3 separate regions of the Homo sapiens genome follow, and regions 2 and 3 are each linked to region 1. The links are contacts of gene promoters, found by promoter capture Hi-C in blood cells and fetal thymus (Javierre and others, 2016). All regions are on one chromosome and are shown on one strand. The core of a region is centred on a gene start or on the middle of the fragment in contact, and the rest is flanking DNA. Distances in the headings are between cores, read along the strand shown. Region 1 holds the start of CHST14 (carbohydrate sulfotransferase 14). Region 2 overlaps DNAJC17 (DnaJ heat shock protein family (Hsp40) member C17). Region 3 overlaps DNAJC17 (DnaJ heat shock protein family (Hsp40) member C17).

The links. Contacts are between HindIII fragments. The CHiCAGO score rates a contact against its expected background, and 5 or more counts as called.
Region 2: a contact is called between a fragment that was not itself captured here and the fragment with the promoter of CHST14 in region 1, in 2 of 17 cell types (naive B cells and total B cells). The highest score is 7.4, in naive B cells.
Region 3: a fragment that was not itself captured here is called in contact with the fragment with the promoter of CHST14 in region 1 in 1 of 17 cell types (naive B cells); the score reaches 5.7 in naive B cells.

The regions. Positions count from the first base shown.
Region 1 is chr15:40,469,553-40,473,262 of GRCh38, forward strand. CHST14 (carbohydrate sulfotransferase 14) reads left to right here and starts at 1,432. Exons shown (of 1, transcript NM_130468.4): 1 at 1,432-3,606. The coding sequence starts at 1,662. The coding sequence ends at 2,792. RefSeq lists enhancers at 904-1,013, 2,296-3,199 and silencers at 1,304-1,543, 1,594-1,843. The HindIII fragment of the contact is 28,829 bases long and covers 1-3,710 here.
Region 2 is chr15:40,773,282-40,777,029 of GRCh38, forward strand. It overlaps DNAJC17 (DnaJ heat shock protein family (Hsp40) member C17), which reads right to left. Exons shown (of 11, transcript NM_018163.3): 5 at 3,261-3,346; 6 at 2,915-3,011; 7 at 2,272-2,315; 8 at 1,750-1,827; 9 at 1,075-1,155; 10 at 446-556. Among named protein-coding and RNA genes, the nearest start is that of C15orf62, 5.2 kb to the left of the region's middle. The HindIII fragment of the contact is 7,655 bases long and covers 1-3,748 here.
Region 3 is chr15:40,791,591-40,795,073 of GRCh38, forward strand. All of the region lies in intron 1 of DNAJC17 (DnaJ heat shock protein family (Hsp40) member C17), which reads right to left. Among named protein-coding and RNA genes, the nearest start is that of ZFYVE19, 14 kb to the right of the region's middle. RefSeq lists an enhancer at 725-1,924 and a silencer at 2,001-2,295. The HindIII fragment of the contact is 1,288 bases long and covers 799-2,086 here.

The DNA.
Region 1 (3,710 bases), core at 182-2,681:
GGTAGCCTGCAGATGCACTGGGGCAATCAGATGTGGAGAGCCTGCCCTGGAGAGCTGGAAGGCTGCAAGGCTTTACCGTTCCTTCCCCTGGCTCATCTGTGTGCTTTTCCTGTTGCTGGGATTGTGGGGTCATCAGTGAGCCCTCTAGTATCACCTCATCCCTCAAGTCCCCTCACCCTTCTGAATTCATCTGATCACTGGTAGCTCCATTCTCCCACTGGTATCTTCTATTTTCCATCACCTGCTCTGTACAGTCCGCCCTCGAGTCAGCTGCTTCCTCCCTTCTAGCCATTCCATGATATGCTCCTTTAATCTCTGAAGGGCCGTGATTAGAAATTTAGGTTTTAGACTCAGAACCACCCATACTGAGTCACATCTTCCCTGAGCCTCTGTTACTTCAGCTGTACAAAGGGAATGTCCACACTAGCTCCCTGCCAGGGTGGCTGTAACAACTAAAGGAGATAATGAATATAAAACACTTAGTGGGCGCTGTCCTCAGTACACTTGGGCTCTAATCATATTCCTCTGCTGCTTCAGAGGCTTGCTGGCTCTCTGCAGGCAGCAAGCACATAGCTGGACCAAGTCTGGCTACTGAGCCAGGTTCCCAGTGGGAAATGGTGGTTGCTGACATCCAAAGCACTTCGGGTCTGCTGTCCGCCCAAGTGACCAGCCTGGTGCCATGGAGCACACATCTAGCTCCAGGCAAGGAGACTACGTGCTGTTTCCCTGCTGTTTTGTGCCCCCAGCTCCTCACCCTTCCAAATGTGTGTTGGCCACACCAGCAGCTGATGGACCAATGTGTCAGACCCTCCCCAGAGTGCCCAGTTATCCCACTGCCTCATGAGGAGAAGGCAGAGGAGGGGAGACTCCATTTCCAGACATTTCAGCATTACCCAGTGGACAAGCACTGTAGTCAGTCCCCAGGTATTGCTAAACACAAGGGTCACCATGGAGACTGGTCAGTGTCTGACAGTTCTGCTTCTCCTTCCTGGAGTGGCCACGACCTGCAGGACGGAGGGAGTTAAGGGTGGCAAGGGGGAGCACACCGAGGGCTCCGCTTCCAGCTGGAAAGACCAGCCTCCGGCACGTCTGGACTCGGAGAGAGCGCTGCCCGCCTCCCTGCCTCCAGACCCGTTGCTGGAGGAAGGGCTAGGACAGGCCTGAGTTTGTGGCGAATCCCCCTTGTCCACTTCCCTGAGGACACACGCTGCAGGAGAGCAGCCTCGAGTCTTTTCTGCCTTCGAGGTCTCAGGAGCTTTTGTCCCCAAGCCCAGAGGACAGGGGTGGCCCTGACTCAGGCGCCCTCTTCCGGGTAGGGGTCCGCGTGCGCCCTCCCAAGCCCGCGCCCCGCAGGGGCGCCCGCCCCTCTCCCCGCCCCCGGCGTGGGCCCGCCCCCGCGCCTGTGTCACTGCGAGGCCGGGGGTGGAGAGCGGCCGGGCGGGACATCCGGCCCGGGTCCCTCGCCGCGCCCGCCGCCCGCCGCCCGCTTCGGCGCCGCAGCCCGGGAGCCGGCCACCCCTACACGCGCCAGGGCTGTCCCCTGCCCTCCCCTCCCCAACTACCCCCGGTCCCAGACCCTCCTCCCGCCCCCAGCCCGAGCCCGCCTTCCAGGCCGCCCTCGGATCGGCCGGGCCCGCGCAGGCCCCCACCCCTTGAGCACCATGTTCCCCCGCCCGCTGACCCCGCTGGCGGCCCCAAATGGCGCCGAGCCCCTGGGCCGGGCGCTGAGGCGGGCCCCTCTGGGCAGGGCCCGGGCGGGGCTGGGTGGGCCGCCCCTGCTGCTGCCGTCCATGCTGATGTTTGCGGTGATCGTGGCCTCCAGCGGGCTGCTGCTCATGATCGAGCGGGGCATCCTGGCCGAGATGAAGCCCCTGCCCCTGCACCCGCCCGGCCGCGAGGGCACAGCCTGGCGCGGGAAAGCCCCCAAGCCTGGGGGCCTGTCCCTCAGGGCTGGGGACGCGGACTTGCAAGTGCGGCAGGACGTCCGGAACAGGACCCTGCGGGCGGTGTGCGGACAGCCAGGCATGCCCCGGGACCCCTGGGACTTGCCGGTGGGGCAGCGGCGCACCCTGCTGCGCCACATCCTCGTAAGTGACCGTTACCGCTTCCTCTACTGCTACGTCCCCAAGGTGGCCTGCTCTAACTGGAAGCGGGTGATGAAGGTGCTGGCAGGCGTCCTGGACAGCGTGGACGTCCGCCTCAAGATGGACCACCGCAGTGACCTGGTGTTCCTGGCCGACCTGCGGCCTGAGGAGATTCGCTACCGCCTGCAGCACTACTTTAAGTTCCTGTTTGTGCGGGAGCCCTTGGAACGCCTCCTCTCTGCCTACCGCAACAAGTTTGGCGAGATCCGAGAGTACCAGCAACGCTATGGGGCTGAGATAGTGAGGCGGTACAGGGCTGGAGCGGGGCCCAGCCCTGCAGGCGACGATGTCACATTCCCCGAGTTCCTGAGATACCTGGTGGATGAGGACCCTGAGCGCATGAATGAGCATTGGATGCCCGTGTACCACCTGTGCCAGCCTTGTGCCGTGCACTATGACTTTGTGGGCTCCTATGAGAGGCTGGAGGCTGATGCAAATCAGGTGCTGGAGTGGGTACGGGCACCACCTCACGTCCGATTTCCAGCTCGCCAGGCCTGGTACCGGCCAGCCAGCCCCGAAAGCCTGCATTACCACTTGTGCAGTGCCCCCCGGGCCCTGCTGCAGGATGTGCTGCCTAAGTATATCCTGGACTTCTCCCTCTTTGCCTACCCACTGCCTAATGTCACCAAGGAGGCGTGTCAGCAGTGACCATGGGTGTGGGGCCAGCAGCTGGTGGGGACTGGTTTCAACGCCAGCTTTCTGTGCTTCTGCCTGTCATTCGGAGAAACTCTGGCTCTGGGGCTTGGGGCTTCTCAGGATCCTGGATGGCAGAGACTGCCCTCAGAAGTTCCTTGTCCAGGGTGGGCACCCACAGTGACTCAGAGGACAGGGCTAGGCAGGAGACCTGCTGCTCCTCATTGGGGGGATCTCTTGGGGGGCAGACACCAGTTTGCCAATGAAGCAACACATCTGATCTAAAGACTGGCTCCAGACCCCGGGCTGCCAGGATTATGCAGTCCACTTGGTCTACCTTAATTTAACCTGTGGCCAAACTCAGAGATGGTACCAGCCAGGGGCAAGCATGACCAGAGCCAGGGACCCTGTGGCTCTGATCCCCCATTTATCCACCCCATGTGCCTCAGGACTAGAGTGAGCAATCATACCTTATAAATGACTTTTGTGCCTTTCTGCTCCAGTCTCAAAATTTCCTACACCTGCCAGTTCTTTACATTTTTCCAAGGAAAGGAAAACGGAAGCAGGGTTCTTGCCTGGTAGCTCCAGGACCCAGCTCTGCAGGCACCCAAAGACCCTCTGTGCCCAGCCTCTTCCTTGAGTTCTCGGAACCTCCTCCCTAATTCTCCCTTCCTTCCCCACAAGGCCTTTGAGGTTGTGACTGTGGCTGGTATATCTGGCTGCCATTTTTCTGATGCATTTATTTAAAATTTGTACTTTTTGATAGAACCCTTGTAAGGGCTTTGTTTTCCTAATAGCTGACTTTTTAATAAAGCAGTTTTATATATAAGGCGAGCATTTCTGTGATTTCCCTTGGAGCTCCTGTGGGCCCAGCAGATCTCCTCGATGTCTGTCTTCCCATGTCAGGGGAGGCAGCCTGTAGATAGAGAAAGT
Region 2 (3,748 bases), core at 790-3,289, 300 kb after region 1:
GATATTGCCTCTTGACAGTCGGTCCCTTTCTGGGGCAGCCAGAGACACATCCAGAAAACTGAAGTGCTGGGAAGGAAGTGGCTGTCCTAGTCACCTGCCCCTTCTCTGCAGCACTGGGTCGTCTAAGCTCCAAATGCTTCACACACCACAACCAAGCAACCTGAGGGCCAGGAAGATCCCTTTGGTGAGAAGGAGAGTCCCAACAGGAGGCCAGATATGGAGAGAAAGCAAGGTCTAAGAATACAGTGTGGGTGGGGCCTCTCTGGCCCTCAGAGAGGAAAAGGGTTCAACGTGAAATCACAGCCCCTCTTGCCTGGGTTGGTGGACCTGCCAAGCTCACTCTAGGCCCCAAGATCTGAATTTGGAAGGAAAGAGCCTGAGAGGAGCCCAGGTAGGAAGAGCTCCGAGACCTGAGCGCCCAGCCGGGCGAGGCCTGACTCCTCACCTTTGACAGTCCTGAGTGGCTGCGGCCCACGGCATCCTGGGGCTGTCCCTCCAACCAGGAAATCTTCAGAGGGTTATCCACCAGGCCAACTTCATTCTGGACAGCCAGCTCCTGCCAAACACAGCATCTAGTCCTGTCCCATCCGTTGAGTCAGCTATAAAGAGGCTCTCTCTACCCCCACAGAGAGAACGGAACCAGCGTTCTAGCCCTCTAAGCAGAGATGCCAACCTCAGCAGCCTTCAAGTGATGGGTGTTAACGCTTTGGCCTTTCCTGCGGGAGAGGGGTTGGGGGAGCTTTCTGATGTGGGGAGGCGAGGAGCACAAAGGGTGGGAAGGCAGTGCTGGGGCTCACAGCCCCAAGGGGTGCAGGTGGAGGGTGTGAAGGCACCAGCAGGGAGCAGAGTCAAGTCTGTGCTCTCCTTTCTCCCCAGAGCACCCCCCATCCATCCCTTCACACACGGTGCCTCTATTTCCAGGAGTCAGGGGCCCCTGGGAAGAGCCTTGGCTCTAAGCTGGCCTGGAGATTCCCTAGGAGTGCAGACCACCTAACTCAGAGGGCCCACAGAATTGGGTCCCTGCCCTAGAATGACAGGGCCACGAGGGGCCCCCAAGCCTCATGCAGCACTCACCGCTGCCTTGACGGTTGCAAACTCCACCACAGCAGTGCCTGGCTTCTTACTGGAAAGCACCAGGTTGAGAACCTCACCATACTGTGGGGACAAAGGGGTCCTAATAAGCATGACTTGGCCTTCAGGATGGCCCAGGTCATGCCAGAGACAAGCCTGGGCTACCTTGAGGCCCATGGGGCATTTTCAGTTGGGAGATAACTTCTTGCCCCACCTACTTATCTTAGTGAAGTGAGATCAGAGATAGGAAAGAAAGAAATTTTTTTCTAGGAACACAGAGCAGCAAAGGAATGATGAGCAAAGCCCTGGTGACTTAGACTGACACATTTCATTGCATAGCGTCCTTGCTAGTTGAACGTGGTGAAAAGGACGGGGCTTTCGTGCCAGATACGCACCTCGTCCCTCCCAACCCACTCAACCAAGCTCTTTGCTTCTAAGGGTAAGGGTTAGACCGAGGTAGCAAAGGACAGCGGGCTGGAAGGGGGCACATGGCCACACAAGTGAAAGCAAGGCTGTAGCCTGGGGAGAAGTCTCTAAGACGTCCCATGGTCTATGAGACAGAAAAAAAAAGCAAGTAGATATGTTAAGGGAAGTTCAGGCATTGAGAGCAGAGACCTAGGGTGTGGACTGAGACGTGGACTGAGATGATAGGAAAGAGTGGACGTCAACAGGGCCGACCTTCTGCAAAAGCCGTAGGAGGACGTCTTTGGAGTAGCCACCTTTTGACTCATCCTCCTTCTTGCACTTCCATTTTAGCTGAAAAGAGAGCCTCATGAAACACTGATTCTTGGCTGAACAGTACCTCACCCCACGACTGAGCTTGACAGTCTGAGCAGACATCCTCCCACCCTCCAAGCCTCCAAGGCTCCTGCAATCTGGGGAGTGCCACCAGAAACATTTTCCCCTTGGGAACTTGAAGGCAGGATGGCCTGCTCACCCCAGGGACGCTTCCCGCCCAGAAGACCCTCTCCTGAGAGGGCTTCTAGAGAATCCTCTGCCCTGTGATCAGGGCTAAAAGCAGCCTTTCGTGGCAAGCTCTGATCTCCGGGCGGCTGGAGCATGGAGGGAGGTGGTAATGGTGCGGGCTCCACGCAGATCCAGCAGCCCCACCAGAAACCCTCGAGCCACAGGAAGCATCTATTCCTGCTGAGGGGAGGCGGTGTGAGTGTGAGGTGGCCCACAGATCCTGCCCAGGCTCACCTTTAGTTTGGGGGTTCCTTGGCCTTCAGTATTTTCTGCCTTTCCTAGAAATATTGGGAAAAGAAGAAAAGTAGAATATGAGGGAGTCAGAGATTCTCCCAAAGGAAATGCAGCCCAGAGCAAGAAGGGTCTGGAAAGGGTCACTCCTGACCAAGGGCAATGCCTGCCCAGCTCTGGTGAGGGCCTGGTGGGGAAAGCAGATGCCCATCCCCAGAGAAGCTGCCACCCCAGGGGTGGTCTACCCAGCTGCCTCCTGAAGGCCACTTGTCAGCACTCTCTGAATGGAGAGCTAGGAACACTTTCTAGGGACAGGAGGCAGAGAGACAGACCATGAGGTTCTACGGGCACAAAGTGTCCCAGGGCCCCTCCCCGTGGTGATCTGTCCCAAAACAAGGCCACCTCTGCTTGGGACAAAGCCAAATGTGGCCAGGAGATCTCAGGCAGAGTAAAAAGCAAATAGGCCCCAGAGAACTGGGAGGAAGACGGGATAAGTGGCATGTGTCAGAGTAAGGTACCATAGGGTGACCCCAGGGTTCCAGCAGGTAGAAGCCTCCACAGCAGCTCCACCGAACAGCCAGTGTGGCCGCTCTGAGCAATCTGGAGCTACCTTGGAGGGGAGATAGGCGGGGTGATAGACCTGCACCTCTCAACCTCTGGTCACGCTCCTGGCGTATCTGCTCCCGGATGAGCCTCTGCTGTTCCTCCAGCTGCCGGGAACCCTCTTCTCTCAGGCGTTCGATCTGCAGAGCAGGGGGTGGGGGTGACAATTCTGTGCAGGTCCAATTCCAGGCTGGCTCACCTTGTAAAAAGTCCTTGGGAGCTTCCACCTGCAAGCTAGGGCTCAGCAACCTGTGGGTGGGACAAATCACCCAGCTCCCACTGAAGGTGCAAAGAGCATGCCCTCTCTAGCCACGGCGACCACCAGGTCCATCCTCCCCCACCTCCTCCTCCTGCAGGTGGCCTTCTGGCCAGTGTGCCTGAGTGCTCACCTCTTGCTCTAGTGTCCTGGTGCTCCGGCTCTCCTCTTCCTCCTCACTCTCCTGGGCCTGGGCCTGCCGCTCCCGGGCCTCCAGGTCTAGACACAAGGGTTGAATGACCAGACTGCTGGTCTGTTCAGTTTCCATGTGGCCTCGGCCCACCCCAGCTCTGGCTGCCTCCCCAAAGTCTCAATCACGACGAGATCATACAGTAACTCTGCCCCCTCCCTCCATGCCCACGCCCCCGAGTCAATTTCCATTGAGAAAAATCACAGCACAGAAGTATGGGGTCTAGCAGAGTGGCCAGGGGTCTGGAAGAGTTAAAAACAGCTCACACTGACCAAGCTGGTTCTCTCTAGTGAACAGGGTGTGGGTGGTGCTTATGTCAGCAGCCCAGGGCCATGTGTCAGGGGTGCCAATGGGCGGAGCTGCTGGGCTCGATTCCTGTGGTTTGGCACCACAGCTTGACTTGCTTTGGCTTTGATTCTTTTCACACACTG
Region 3 (3,483 bases), core at 193-2,692, 320 kb after region 1:
TCCCAGCACTTTGGGAGGCTGAGGTGGGCGGATCACCTGAGGTCAGGAGTTCGACACTAGCCTGGCCAACATGGTGAAATCCTGTCTCTACTAAAAATACAAAAATTAGCTGGGTGTGGTGGCACGCGCCTGTAATCCCAGCTACTGGGGAGGCTGAGGCAGGAGAATCGCTTGAACTCAGGAGGCGGAGGTTGCAGTGAGCCAAGATCACGCCATTGCACTCCAGCCTGGGCAACAAGAGCGAAACTCCATCTGAAAAAAACAAAACAAAACAAAACAAACAGGCTCAGTACCCAACCTCAAGGCCTCAGCACCTGGTCTAGATATAAGAGGTTCTGGGAAAAGCCCCCTTTGGAGACAGCAGATTACATCAGGCACACTTCAGATCCAGAAATGGCCCCCAGATGCTCACAGAATCAAGTGTAACCACCCTAGGGCCTAGAGGCCCAAACACACATTTCTCAGATTCATCTCCTGCGACCTCCTCAGCAAACCCTAGGCCATGCCCATTCCCTGTCATGCTAGGCACTCCACATCTGCATGCCCCGGTTGCTCCTTCAAGCCCTTGTCTGTCCTCTGTCCTCAAAAACCAAGTCTTCTTAAATTTTTAAGAAACAATGTTGATGCACCACCTTCTAGGGTATAAAAGAAATATGTAGCTAGTGGTACCAAGATAATAGCTAGCTTAAAGATAAAATAGCCTTTTCCTTGCAGTAATTTATATGCTATAATATAACCTCCCTCCCAGAAAATGTCAATATTAAGTTTCCCTGGTAGTTTTCCTGATAAATAGACTTAAGCTTTGAGTCTTGAAAAACAATCAAAATGCATTTTCAAACATCTGGCTTCCCCAGGTAATTACCTGCCAAGATGAATGAGCTACACACCCTTCAAAGGGCTTCAAATGAAAGGTAAGGCTGCTACAGACAGAAGAGAAAGACAGGCTGGACATGCTGACTCATGCCTGTAATCCTGGCACTTTGGGAGGCCGAGGCAGGAGGACTGCTTGAGCCCAGGAGTTCGAGACCAGCCTGGGCAACATAGGGAGACCCCATCTCCACAAAATATTTTTCTAAAAATTATCCAGGCGTGGTGGTGCACTCCTGTGGTCCCAGCCTGGAGGACAGAGTGAGACCCCCAGAAATACACATGTGGGCTGCACAAAAGTGGAAAGGATCTTGATTGGAGCTCTAGTCTCAGGCTGATGCTCACTCGCTGGATGGTCGTGGAAAATTTTGTAACCTCTCTGAACCTCCATTCTCCAGTCTACAAAATAAGACAGTAAATGACCATGAAGATCCCTTCTTTTTTTTTTTTTTTTTTTTGAGATGGTCTCACTTGTCACCCAGGCTGGAGTGCATGGCACGATCTCAGCTCACTGCAAGCTCTGCCTCCGGGTTCACGCCATTCTCTTGCCTCAGCCTCCCGAGTAGCTGGGACTACAGGCACCCGCCACCACGCCTGGCTAATTTTTTTGTATTTTTAGTAGAGACGGGGTTTCACCATGTTAGCCAGGATGGTCTCGATCTCCTGACCTCGTGATCTGCCCGCCTCGGCCTCCCAAAGTGCTGGGATTACAGGCGTGAGCACCGTGCCCAGCCCATGAAGATCCCTTCTAACTGCTGCAATATATTCTTTTCTCCCTTCAAGATCTTGCATAAAAACACCAGTCATATAAATCATGTCTTCCTCTTTATTCTTACAGCATTTTCTTATATACTCTTACTGAACCTCATTCATTGCACCTCAGCGTTCACTGAGTATATAACTGTGTGAGCTGTCAGAAGTCAGAAGTGGTATCTTACTCAGCTCTAAGTCCTACCATGCTCAAACAGTACCTTGTCCATGGTGAGAAACTCCATTCATTTGTTGATGTGAACTAAATGTTGAACTCTGGTGATCCTCAATTTTGTTCTACTTGATCCTCCACCGCCTTCCTACCCTGACCACTGCCTCAATTGAGAATCACTGATTTGCTGTTAGGTGACTCAGCACTAATGTGTCAGGAATGGAGTGAGTAAAGAAGGGGTCCAGGTGGAGGGCAGCCTTGGACACAAGCTGGGGGCGATTCATATTTGACTTTCCAAGCTTACAGTGTAAGGAAGATGGACTCACAATGAAAACAGCAAGAACTGACTCATAGTGAGCGCTCACTCTATGCCAGGCACTGTGCCAAATGCTTACGTGGATCAAGCCTCAAAACAATGCGATCAAGGACAGACTATCATCATCCTCGTTTTGCAGACGAGGAAACCAAGGTACAGAGCGGTTAAATATTTGCTCCAGGTCACAAACTAGGTCATGGGGCAAGTATCCAGGCAATCTGACTCCAAAGTCCACTTTCTTAACTATAACTGCTAATAAGTACAAAGGTGATTATGAAGGCACATTTACAATTCTAACATCTGTATCATGATTTCCATCTATTCTCAACACATGGTAGATGCAACAAGCAACAATTCTTAGCCTTACACATTAAAGATAGTTATAAAAACTGTTACTTTCAATCCCAGCACTTTGGGAGGCCGAGGCGGGCGGATCACAAGGTGAGGAGTTTGAGACCAGCCTGACCAATATGGTGAAATCCCATCTCTACTAAAAATACAAAAATTAGCCAGGCATGGTGGTGCATGCCTATAATCCTAGCTACTCAGGAGGCTGAAGCAGGAGATCTGCTTGAACCCAGGAGGCAGAGGTTGCAGTGAGCTGAGATTGTGCCACTGCACTCCAGCCTGGGGGATAGAATGAGACTCCATCTCAGAAAAAAAAACAAAAACAAGAACAAAACCTGTTACTTTCGGCTGGGCACAGTGGCTCATGCCTGTAATCCCAGCACTTTGGGAGGCCAAGGCCAGAGGATCACTTGAGCCCAGGAGTTCAAGACCAGTCTGGGCAACATGGTGAGACCCCATCTCTACAAAAAATACAAAAATTACCCTGGCATGGTGGTGCACACCTGTAAGCCGAGCTACTCAGGAGGCTGAGGTGGGAGGATCACCTGAGCCCAGGAAGTCAAGGCTGCAGTGAGCTATGATTGCACCACTGTACTTTGGCTGGGGCAAAGCGAGACCATCTTTAAAAAAACAAAAAACAAAAATAAAAACGGTTACTCTCTTTATTAAATTTATTTATTTATTTATTTTTTGAGACGGAGTCTTGCTCTGTCGCCCAGGCTGGAGTGCAGTGGCACGATCTCGGCTCACTGAAACCTCTGCCTTCCGGGTTCAAGTGATTCTCCTGCCTCAGCCTCCTGAGTAGCTGGGATTATAGGCGCCTGCCACCAAGCCCAGCTAATTTTTTGTATTTTTAGTAGAGATGGGGTTTCGTCGTGTTGGCCAGGCTGGTCTCGAACTCCTGACCTCAGGTGAGCCCCCCGCCTCGGCCTCCCAAAGTGCTCGGATTACAGGCATGAGCCACCGTAAGTTTATTTTTAATATATATTTTTAGCCGACTCTTGCTCCTCTCTGGAAAAACTGTTATTTT